Regions from separate parts of the Homo sapiens genome. Here region 1 is linked to region 2. Evidence: promoter capture Hi-C in 16 types of primary human blood cells and fetal thymus (Javierre and others, 2016). All regions are on one chromosome and are shown on one strand. The core of a region is centred on a gene start or on the middle of the fragment in contact, and the rest is flanking DNA. Distances in the headings are between cores, read along the strand shown.

Region 1 (6,228 bases), core at 2,228-4,727, 390 kb before region 2:
CCAGGATGGTCTCCATCTCCTGACCTCGTGATCCGCCTGCCTCGGCCTCCCAAAGTGCTGGGATTACAGGCATGAGCCACCACGCCCGGCCAGAATGATTATTTTTTTAAAAGAAGCCCCATAGTATACCTTGGGAAAATGCACGTGGGAGACAGCTCTCCAGCATATTCTCTTTCCAACCTGGAAGAACCTGCATAAACAAATGAGAGAGAAGTAGAATGTATCATACCTGATCAACAGTTACATATGTTGATACATGTATCAATATGTATAATTGCAAACAGTGGAGGCATGTAAGAAGATGGGAATAGCTGATGTTCCAGCTTCAGCAGGAAGACTCCAGTAGTGCAGGTACCCTTATCACCAGGGATCTACCGGAAGCAAGACATAAACTAGAGGCTTCTATCTTCTGTTCCTTCATCCACATAACACTCTAGAAGTTCCGGGCGCAGTGTCTCACTCCTGTAATCTCAGAATTTGGGAGACCGAGGCGGGCGGATCACAAGGTCAGGAGATCTAAACCATCCTGGCTAACACGGTGACACCCCGTCTTTACTAAAATATACAAAAAATTAGCAGGGCGTGGTGGTGGGCGCCTGCAGTCCCAGCTACTGGGGAGGCTGAGGCAGGAGAATGGCGTGAACCTGGGAGGCAGAGCTTGCAGTGAGCTGAGATCGCTCCACTGCACTCCAGCCTGGGCGACAGAGCAAGATTCTGTCTCAAAAAAAAAAAAAAAAAAAAAATTTCTTAGTGCAGAATGAGGCAATAATAAATCATTAGCATCAAACTGAGCTCATGTAAGGATGGGAAAAAACGTCTTGTGTGAAGCAGGAGAAAACCCAAATCAATTACCCAATGTGTTGGTTATTGCAGCTTACTCAGTAATCTGAGGAATTCAATCATTGTTCTAGACTCTCCCTCATTAGTGCATATTAAGACACTTCTACTGTAAAATAATGAGCAAAAGACATTAGTGGGGAAGAAATAAAGTTTTGTTTTGTTTTATATAACATTTTTCCAAAGTATAAAGACTGTGAGTATTCTTAATTATAGAAACATCATCCATTCATTCGTTCCATTTTAACCAAAGGCGTGGCAACAGACTTTACTTGGAGAAAGTTGGAGTTGATTAATATTCTAAACTCTAAAGCAGAATTTTATCGTGTGCAGAGATGGTGTCAATAGTCCTAACAGACAAGCTAGTGAAATTTGATTCCATTATGGACAATTAGTATCTAGGACAAAGAAAGGAATTTAGACTTTCAGATTGGGCTGGTTGATTTGTAGGGAGAAAACTGTGGGTGTGTGAGGGAGAGTTAGAAGTGGGGTTTTGGGAGAAAATAACAAGAGGAAGGAAGAAACTTGAAACCACTACCGTTTTAACAGCGCTCTTATTTTCTGCAAGTAGCTATCAAAATCATTCAGCATTTTTTATATACAAACAGTTTTGCATCTTAATAGTAGCTGATAAACAATCTCCTTTCACATTTATGCACAGGCATCTAAAAAAAAACGGTGATTTTTTTTTTTCTACTAGAAGGAAAAATACCACATTTCTTTCAAGGAAAAAAATGAAGTTAAAATCATTGCCAAAGTGAACACTGGCATTTAAGAAGCACAAGCTACTGACAGATGGTTAATGGTCTGAGTATCAGCAAAATCAAAGCAAGGAAATTGCTAAAAGGAGTCTAATCGTTCAAAAGATAATTGCGTATCACAGTTCTTCTACATTTACTTGCTACTGGTGTTGACATCAGTTGAGATATTCGGTACATCTTGGGAAGGCCGCTTGCTCAAACTTCACAGATTCTCTGCAAAAGATGTTAAAAAAAAGGTGGACTATATATTAAAAATAGAAAAATTATGCCAAAACAGATGGCATCTACTAATTGCACTAGTCAGATTTGTTTACTGAAATAATACAGAGATACAGAATTGAAGGTAGGAGACCAGACTGAAGACACAACCCCTCTAAAGTTGTGTCTGCCTCTATGACTGAACATTTTCCATTGCCTCACTCAGTGCATCTCAATAACATTTTTCTGTAAATAAGAACCACACTTTATTTGGAAAATCTAGACTTAAAAAGGTTGATTTGTAATCCAAAGAAAATAATGAAAGTGAGGTATTTGATTAAGAAATCTTAATAAAATGACTGGTTCTAACAGTCATTTAGCCCCAAAACAAACTTACGTGTATTTTAATCATCTGACACAAGTCAACTTCATTATCAAGTTTCAAACAGTGCTTGGAGATTGGTGTCTGTCTTTTTCCCAACAACTTGAACCATTGACAGGTAGTCACAGAGAGTGATTTTAATAGTTTTTATCAGCCTGGACATTCCTAAACAGCATAAGTAATGTTGCACTAAAGATAGCATACCATTGGGAAGATTTTAGAACTTAGTTCCCATGAAGACATGATTTAATTTCTCAATTACTAATTAAAAACATATCAAAGTATGTAAATTATGCAAACTTTGATCATTTACTGTTCATCAAATAGAACCAACTTCTGTTGACTATGAAACTTTGTATATAGTATCACTATCCTAATCGCTTTATAAGGTAGGAGTAAATTATTTTCTGATTCACCACTTATGGCCACATTTTGTAACATGAGAACTAGTAATGGATTGTTTTTGTAGCTGTAATTCAATCAATCAAACCAGGCTAATTCTACAGCTTCAAGTTGAATATTTCAATAAATTATATATAAACCCTATTAGGAAAATATAAACCTGGTTTATAGAGACCTGTAAAGATGTCAGGAGAACTTTCTGGCCTTCCTTGGAAGATTTCTAAATCAAAGCACACATTTACAAATTTCATTTGTTTGGGATATAAAATAATCCCAGTGTAATGTAATATATTAGTATGTTACTTGTTCTTTTCATTTTTGATCAATATTGTACGGGTATGCCCAGCCCAAATTACCTTATTTTAGTGTTCCCCAAGTATTAAGCTTAATTTTAAGCCTATAAATCCTGCAGCAAAAGAAGGTCTTATTGCTCTATCTCACAAGTGCTTAGAAGAATCTACAGGCAGTACACTGACATTCAATAGAAAATTAGTAACAGTAGGAAAAAAAAAAGCCCTTCAGTTACAGATCTAAAACTTTTCAAGAAACAGAATCTGCCAGTTCCATCAAAGCGACACATCTATTCTGAAAAATAATGTGTGCATACGTGTTCCTTCCAAAGGGAGTTCCCAGCCTCTTCTTCCAATTGACAAAGGACAAAATTATTACTGAAATACGAAGCTTCCTGTGGTTGACAGTGGAAAAATTGAGGACTGAGCAGTTCCTCGGCTGAAAAATGTCTGAATGTCAACAGGTGCAGAAGTCTCTTAATAAAGGGAATCCCACCCTACCTTCTTCTCACAGATGCCCACGCACATTGCTGTGCACAGGTGCTTGCAGAGAAGTTTTGTCTTCGGCAGCCTCTTGTTCTCTTGTCTGTTTCCTGGTATAAATGAGTGTATAGTTCTTGGGAAAGTCAGTCTTACAACTTCTCTTGTTTTCTTTTGAAAACAGCCTGCGTAACCAGAGGCAAAGAAGCAGAATGAGGTCACACTTCCTGTTGGGCTCACATCAGTGGCATTCACACTGAGGAGTGTGCTGAAGATTTCAGAGAGTTTCCTGGGCCAGCAGCAGGGAATGTGCAGCCCATGTGTCAGGCCAGCTGGTTACACCCTGGTCACTGGAGGGGTGGTTTTCTGAGCTAACTTGTCACCTTTGGCTGCGAGAACGTGAGAAAGACTCAGCGAACTGACATTTCTTGCTCATCATATGGCCACATTCAGTTATAAGTAGTGCAGAGTAGTGATCTTTGTCCAAATCACTTAAATTTATTGAGGATAATGCACTGATGCTATTAAATTCAGAATACTATTAAATAGCAAGAGCTTGATCTTATGAAAATTTCTATAGAGGCAATAGGTTTATCTAATGAAGGTTGGACTTCACAAAAAACTCTATAGATGGCATTTTACATTTACATTATAGTAGAGCTCAAAGACTTGATGGTGTTTATGGGTTCATACACATCTGTACTACTGTAAGTGATAAAAGAAATGTACATTCAAATATATATTCCAGCAACATTGAGGTACCACTGCATAGTGGAAAGAGTGCGGATTCTGGGGTCACAAGACAGAAATTCAACCTGTCTACCATCCTAGCTGTGTGACCTCAGATTTGTGACTTACCCCTCTGAGTTGCAGTTTTCTCAATTATAAACATAAAAATATATATGTCATATGATGGCTTGAAGAATTAAATGAAATAAAAGAAATGAGAAATAATCGAGTCCTCAGCACAGATGTGCAAGGTGTATTCTTTATTTGTTTTCTTAAATCAAGTTCTCTTCTGAGGCACCAGTTGGTCCGGCTGGCGGAAAAGTTAATCTCATCCTTTCCTGGGGTTCCCTTTCCCCCTGAGGTTCTGCCACATGGCAGGATCTTCTGTAGAACATGTTCTAGGCAGCAGGAACTGTCAGGAGGAGGGCCCATCTAATTTCAAAGTTCTCTGTCTCTGGAACTTCATGTCTATTCTCCATCCCTTGAGTGTAGACTGAGGCTGCTGACATGCTCCTTGTAAATAAAGTAAGGCAAAGGTGCTGAGTTTCCACTACCATGATGAGGCTTCCATCTTGTTGGACTCTATTACTTTCTTGCTTGCCTGCTTTGATGAAGCAAGCTGCCATGGTGGAGAAGCCCATGTGTCAAGGAATCAAGAGTGGTCTCAAAAGCCAGTAAGGGTCTGATGCTCCATCCAACAGCCAGGAATCCAGCCAAAAACCAAGTGTGTGAGCTTGGAAGTGGATCCTTCTCCAGTTGAGCCTTGAGCTGACTGCAGCCCCATCTAATGCTCGATTGGAACTGGGAAAGACCCAGAAGCAGACAACCCAGGCTAGCCCTGCCCAGCTCCCTGGCCCACGCAAACTGGGAAGTGACAAATGGTATTTCAAGCCACCACGTTTTGAGGTAATTTGTTACACAGCAACACATAGCAGATGCATAGTCCTAACACAGGTCACTTCCTGAGCCATCTGTCATTGCTGACTCTCTGCTGCTTTAGTGACTCCTGTAGAATATAGTCACATTTACTCAAGGCTACTCCTGGTCACATCTGCCTAAATTTAACAGACAGCTATTCTGCTTCACAGCTGTCTGGTATTCTCTTTACTGGAATTCACAGTTCTCTTCTTCTCCTTTTCCTGTTTTTCTTATCCCTCATCCTCCCTCTTCCAGCCTTGGCTTATCTCTTCTAGATGAGGGAGGAAAATCTTTCTGACTTATTCGAGACCCTCTGCTCTTCCTGTGCCCACAAATCCACTTTTCCGAAGAGCTCACATCAGAAAGACTTTGGTCTACTTTTTTTTTTTTTAAAGATCTGGCACATATTAGAACCTTATTATTAATGATCATAATAATTGCTAACTTTAAGGAGTGCTTACTATGTACCAGGCACTGTTCTAAGGTCTTTCCACATATCAACACATTAATTGTTACATCAATTCCATGGGAGATGCTGTATTATTATTCTCATTTTACAGAAGAGCAAACTGAGTTTAGAGAGTTGCCCAAATTCACATAGCCAGTACGTGATGAGTAAGTAGAGCTAGGATTCAAACCCTGATGAGATGGCTCTCGAGTTTGCTTTCTTAACCTATAAGTGTAATGATCATATCCAACGTGTGTCAGCATTTTCTACAAACCAGGCACTGCACTAAACACTGTACATATGTAATCTTGTTTCAACCTCACGTAGCCCTAGAAAATAAGTGCAATTGTTATCCACATGCAGGACAGAGGTTTATAGAGTTTGCATAAATCTTTCAAAATTGCCAATGGCCAGAACTAAATTCCAAACCTATGGTTCCCCTCTCAATCTTCTCTCTTGAGACCCACTCATCTTCTTCTTGTTTCTCATACACTAGACACGGGTCTACTTCAAGATCTTTGAGGTTAGTGTTCCCTCACCCTAAGGGTCACAGGGCTTTCTTCCTCCCCTCCCTCAGCTCTTTTCTCCACTGCCTTGCTACTAATTAATTGCCCTCCACACCACTCCCTAGTCTCTTCCTGCTTTATTCTTCTCCTTAGCACTTTTTACCAAGGAATATGTCACACAATTCATTCCTTGTAATAAGAAACGTACTCCTCAGCCAGAACATGAGCATTAAAAGAGCAGAGAATATTGTCATTTTGCTTCATTTTAATAGCCCAA
Region 2 (5,760 bases), core at 3,227-5,726:
CACCCCCAACAGGTTGACAGTGGCTGAGCCTGGCCGACCTCAGCCCGCGTAACATGGACACCTGCTAATTGAGGTCCTGGCAGGGCTGGCAGGAATCTTGGGTACGATATAATACGACCCCTGCCCCCACAGTGACTTCACACACAGTTTATCAGAGACCAGACTTCCACTTCCGGACGCACATACACACACACTACCATCTTGTGAGTGCTCATAGGCTGCGAATGCTCATGACTTGTCTGAACCTTACAACAGCTATGGCAGGTTGTCCAGGGTACAGATTATCATCCCCATTTCACAAATAGAAACACTCAGGCTCAGAAAGGGAGAGGAACTTGCCGAGGGTCACAAAGCTGGCCCTTGGGGTCTCCTGTGAGTCATTTATCTGACATCAACTCCACGGCGTATTTTTGTTCATTGTATTCCTCCTCTGACCCACTATGTCACACTGTGTTTCATAAGTCAGTGGGGAAGTAGAACCATTTCTCCAGTTGGGACAGACCCTCCTGGGGAGTGAAGGAAGAACTAGAACATAGGACTCCTAGATCCAGGCCAGCGGTTCTGGGACCTTTACTCATCAATATAGAGCCCGTGTTTCACTTAGAAAAAGGTCCCCCACTCTGTGGAGGCCCACCCTCTAGGATTGTGGCTTGGTGGGCAGAGCAAGGGCTGGAGTTCCACCATGACTCTTCCCCAACAGGAACTAAGCTGATACTATTGTGCAGGACACAACTTCCTCAGCCAGTTACAGCAGACTCGTCTGGACTTACTCAACCGAGTTCTCTTCTGGTGACGACATTTCTCTACCACGCTGGCCAGTCACATTGCTGTGGTAGCCATTACCTATCCTCAACTCATTGTCTGTCTGAAAGATGCAGAATTTCCTCCAACTAGCAAGCCACCCCTTCTACTCTGAAAAGACAGTGAGAGAAGGCAGCAGGCAAACCTGGGCTATTAACCACCCAAAGCCAGCGCCTCCTGGCAGAAATCTTAGTGTTTCTGGTTGTAGACACTCAGCTTGGCAGAGGTTGAGAAAGAATGTTGTTCCAGAACAGCTTCTCGCAGACGTCAACCCCAACTTCCGGGTCAGGCTTATTCACATCTCCTGCCTCTGCTCAGGTGGCATTCCTGCCCTGCCTGGCATGCTCTCCTCTCTTCTCCCTGGTGACCTCCTCTTCCTTTTCACATCTCCCTTTCTGTGAACCCTGCCTTGGCCTCTCTAGGAAGCTGGGAACTCGCTTCTCAACTCTCCTACAGAATATCACTGGTGCCATTTACCACTTAGAACATCGACTTGCAATCAGTTACACACCTGTCTCCCTCTCTGGATGGTGAGTTGTTCAAGGGCTGAAAGGTGTCAAACAGATATCTGTGACTCTGGAGCCTGTATAAATGACCTCATTTTCCCAGACTCTCTCCAGTCCTTTTTGTGGTCACCTTTTCTTTTAATGAGAATAAATGGCTCCAGTTGCCATCTCTCATACCTTGGGAAGTCAATTGCCCTCCCTGTGAACTCTGGAAAGAGCAATAAGAGAGATTGTCTGGCAATGGCCTGGGGAACGCACTATGTGCTGCCTGGACAATAAACTTTCAGGGACCAAGAGCCCTCTCCTCCCAGCTAGAGGGGCTCCACTTGGGCTGAGCTTCCCGCTAGACTGGATCTTTCATCCCCGGTGGCAGGGACTGCAACTTTTCATGGTGCTCAAGATATCCAAGCATGGAGCAGCCGGTTTCCCACACAACAGCTATAAACAACTGACACCCAAATGCACTGAGGTGCCTGGCAATTAACCTCTCCACTGAGAAGGCTGCTTTCTCATAGTGAGGCTGTGCCCCTTCCCTGGGAAGTCACTCTGCCTCTCAGAGGTGATGGAAGGGTGAGTTTCCTGTGTCCTCTCCTCTTGCCAACCTGGCCTTGGAAGTTTCCTTTTAGCAAGAAAACCAACACCATGCCAACACTGGAATTCGTTTCCAACACTGATGCCTGGCCAATGGTGATGCCCAGACAGGCCATCCTCCTGTGCCCACCTCCAGCGTGTGACCCTCTAAATTCCAGTCCTCCTCACTCAGTGTCTGCCTCCTGCCTCTGCTGCCTTCTCCCTGAAATGCCTCCCCCATCCATGGCTTCGATTCTCACCCTCCTTTTCCCAAACCCAGTTGCTTTAGTAGTAGGAGTCTTCCTAAAGGCCGAGTCATAAATATGACCCACAAAAGATCAGGGAAACACTGGATAAGTAACACAAGATCATTCTGAGCTCTTGGCCATCATACCACTGGACAACTACAGTGTCCATCCTTCTCCCCAAGCCCAGCCTCCCACTAGCCTGTGGAACTTTCCTACTAAGAAATGTTCCTATATTCTCTTCCTCTTCTCTTTCCAGATTGTGGCCTCTCCCTCCCTCTTCCCACCAGAAAAAAATCTGAAATTATGATTATGTTATCAGGAAAGTTGTCTTCATCTATGACTAGCCTATGTTCATGCCCTGAGGAGGGAAGGGAGAAAAGTTTTGCTTTTCTTAACCCAAGAGACTCGCATGGCATTTTTCTACACCAAAGAGCCATCCACCCATTTTCCTTCCCATCAGAAAAAAGTCTGAAATTACGATTATGTTATCAGGAAAGTTGTCTTCATCTAGAAATAGCTTATGTTCACACTCTGAGAAGGGTAGGGAGAAAAGTTTGCTTTTCTTAATCCAAATAGCTCACATGGCATTTTTCTACATCAAAGAGACATCCACCCCTGTTTTCCATCTTTAGCCCCACCAAAACAACATTTCTGAGGCTTTAAAATTCTAGTAGTTCCTTAGTGTGCACTTCAGCAGATTCACTCCCTACCTCTCCCAACTCTACTAATGATAACAGAGGGTCCCGTATCCAGTGGAGCTTCCCTGGGGCATGTGCTCTGTGACTTCTTCCTTTCACTCCAGCGCAGTGTGAATGAGGGGGTGAGTGAGTCGATGCTCTATTTCTGCATGTGTGTCAGGGGAGCGGGTATACATGTGTTGGAGTTGAAGGTCACATGTGTGTGTGATTGCATGTGGATGTACTCCCTTGTGCTGTTCCGGGAGGGATGTGTGTGTGCCGTGCACATGTGTGCTTACATGTGCTAGGGCTGGAGGTCAGGTAGCGTGCAGAAGAGGAAGAAATTTGTATAGGATTTGAGATTTCTCAGGCTGCCTCTTGCCAAGTGGTTTCCTCTGAAGCTCAGAATCAGCCCATATGGGCTGGGGTGGAAAATAACCACTGTAAGCAGGCAGTCCCTGACTCATTCCGAAAGCGTGTGGGCCCACCACTTACTACAATGTGTCTCACAATTGAATCTGCTCACCCTGCCTTCAGACTGTGCCTCTGAGGCCCCGTATTCCTTTCCAAAAGCTTGGGAGAAACCATGTAGACCCTTTATCACATCCATCTACTTTTTCCCTCCTGCCTGGCCCTCTTCCCTGGAACAAAGCTCACACTGCCATTTCTTCAGACTCTGTATCCAAAGATCTACCCATTAAAACCTCTGTACTCTCCCCAAGAGGTCCTGGAGAGTGCCTTCAAGGTTCCATTAGTGTCCTTGTGGCTGTATTTGCTCTGTCTTCCCTTTCTGTCTCTCCTACTTACAACCGCTGTGGAGACCCATCACCCCAGAGCCAAGTAGAAGCAACATCATCTCCGGGAAAGGGGACCACTGAGACCATCTCCAACAGAGAAACCATTACAGCGTCTGCTTCTTAGTTCCATAGAATATGCACCCCAGACACCTCATCTGTCCAAGATGATTTCTCTGTTCCTAATCCTTTCCCCTAACCCTGAGGTGAGAGTATGGCTAGGTCGGGCTCACAGGTAAGACTCATGAATATTTGTTGAGTACATTAGGCAGCAATACGGGCAGTCATTTTATATTCAGACCCAGCCATCTTGATGCATCATGAAGTGGCTTGAAAATGCCTGCCTCAAAAGGTCCCACTTTACTCCCAGGATGGTGCTACCTACTGTGCTTGGAGCTGTAGCCTATATGCAGGTTATTGTCCTGAGCTATGCTGCCCTGCACTACCACAGTGTGTACGTCCTGCTAATGACAAGAGAAGCAGTGCTGATATTCAGCTGGAATGCATCGACACACCTCTACTGGTTATTTATAGCCTGCAAGCACACCCATAGGTTATCTGCTGACTGGCTGGTGCCCTTCCACTGCCAATGGTTTATATGCTCCCCTGGGGGGGGTATCCCTCCCACCCACCTCCATACACTCCCCCTACACACATGCACACTCACTCATGCATTTAGAACCTTGCTGCTATAAGACACCCTGGAGGCCCCCTTGCCAGGCCAGCAATTCCTCTGGACAAACTGAATGTTCTATCTATGCCTGTAGCCACCTCTTCTTAGCACTCAATAGACCATGAGCAGAGTCAAAGGACAACTTCACATAGCCTCCTATCTCCCTAAATCCCCTCTCCTAGTGCCTCTGTTCTTCCACTACTCTGTCCCTCCCTTCTGTATCTGCCCTTGATTTCTGCATTAAGTCCATTTGCTGCCAGGTTCTAGGGACCTTATGGTCTTGGGCAATCCAAAGTAGAGCTCCACATGGCCCATGAAGCAAAGGCTGGGCCATGGAAAATAGATGTTACTGCTTACTGGTTGAGTTAGCCTCATTGAAAAATCTCAAATGGGGCCAGGCACTGTGGCTCATGCCTATAATCCCAGCACTTTAAGAGGCCAAGGTAGGCAGATCACCCATGGCTGGGAGTTCAAGACTAGCCTGGCCAACATGGTGAAACCCCGTCTCTACTAGAAATACAAAATATTAGCTGGGCGTAATGGTGGGCACCTGTAATCCCAGCTACTCGGGAGGCTGAGGCAGGAGAATTGCTTGAACCTGGGAGGCGGAGGTTGCAGTGAGCTGAGATCACACCATGGCACTCCAGCCTGGCCAACAGAGCATGACTCTGTCCAAAAAAAAGAAAAGAAAAGAAAGAGGGAAGGGAATGGAAGGGAAGGGAAGGGAGGGGAGGGGAGGGCAGGGGAGGGAAGGGGAGGGGAGGGGAGGGGAGGGAAGGGAAGGGAAGGTTTCAAATGGGAAGCTCATTACCAGAGGGAACTTCTGATTATCAATGCAGTGGATTACAAATTTCACAGTCACAGAAACAGACAAACAAAAGTCCAACTTAAAGTCTACTTTGGGCCCTCATCTTGCCAGATAACAGAAAACATAATTTAGTCATTTCTTGACAAATGGAGTCACTGCGTATACATGTGCAGTCTCTTTGGGATAGACGGTCAAGGGACTTCTCTCTCACTGAGTGACATCTGAATTCTGTTTGCCAATGTCATGACCTGATGTTAATGTTCTCTTCCAGGATTTGGTCCTTGCTTGTTGGGTGGCCAGGAAATAACAGCTTTGCACAGGCTGCTCAAGGTGGTGAGAGAAAGACCTATAGCCCCTTGCCTGAATCCAAACCACTGTTTTTTGGCTATTACAAGATAATTTATAAGTGACTTATTTGTATGCTGCATACTATTTTTTGCTGCTATACATTTTAATTTCCAATGTTATTTTGGGTGACTTAAAGGAAGTGGCTGGGAAAGAAAGCTTTGGCTTGACATACGGAAACTGCTACTTAACCTATACAGAATAAGAATATGGGCTTTGGAGAGGACAGATCAGGTTTGTCAGAGTGTGAATTCTCTGACTCATGAAAGTTAAAATGTAATCAATAAACATTCTTAACGGGGATAAGTGTATCAGTGTTAAAGCCACATTTTACTGAA

The links. Contacts are between HindIII fragments. The CHiCAGO score rates a contact against its expected background, and 5 or more counts as called.
Region 1: a contact is called between the fragment with the promoter of TMEM71 here and a fragment that was not itself captured in region 2, in 1 of 17 cell types (activated CD4 T cells). The highest score is 6.5, in activated CD4 T cells.

What each region holds. Positions count from the first base shown.
Region 1 is chr8:132,757,105-132,763,332 of GRCh38, forward strand. TMEM71 (transmembrane protein 71) reads right to left here and starts at 3,478. Exons shown (of 10, transcript NM_001382403.1): 1 at 3,372-3,478; 2 at 1,736-1,811; 3 at 130-190. The coding sequence starts at 1,775. The HindIII fragment of the contact is 4,740 bases long and covers 3,260-6,228 here.
Region 2 is chr8:133,149,840-133,155,599 of GRCh38, forward strand. All of the region lies in intron 1 of LOC105375769 (a long non-coding RNA gene), which reads left to right. Among named protein-coding and RNA genes, the nearest start is that of CCN4, 38 kb to the right of the region's middle. The HindIII fragment of the contact is 2,206 bases long and covers 3,374-5,579 here.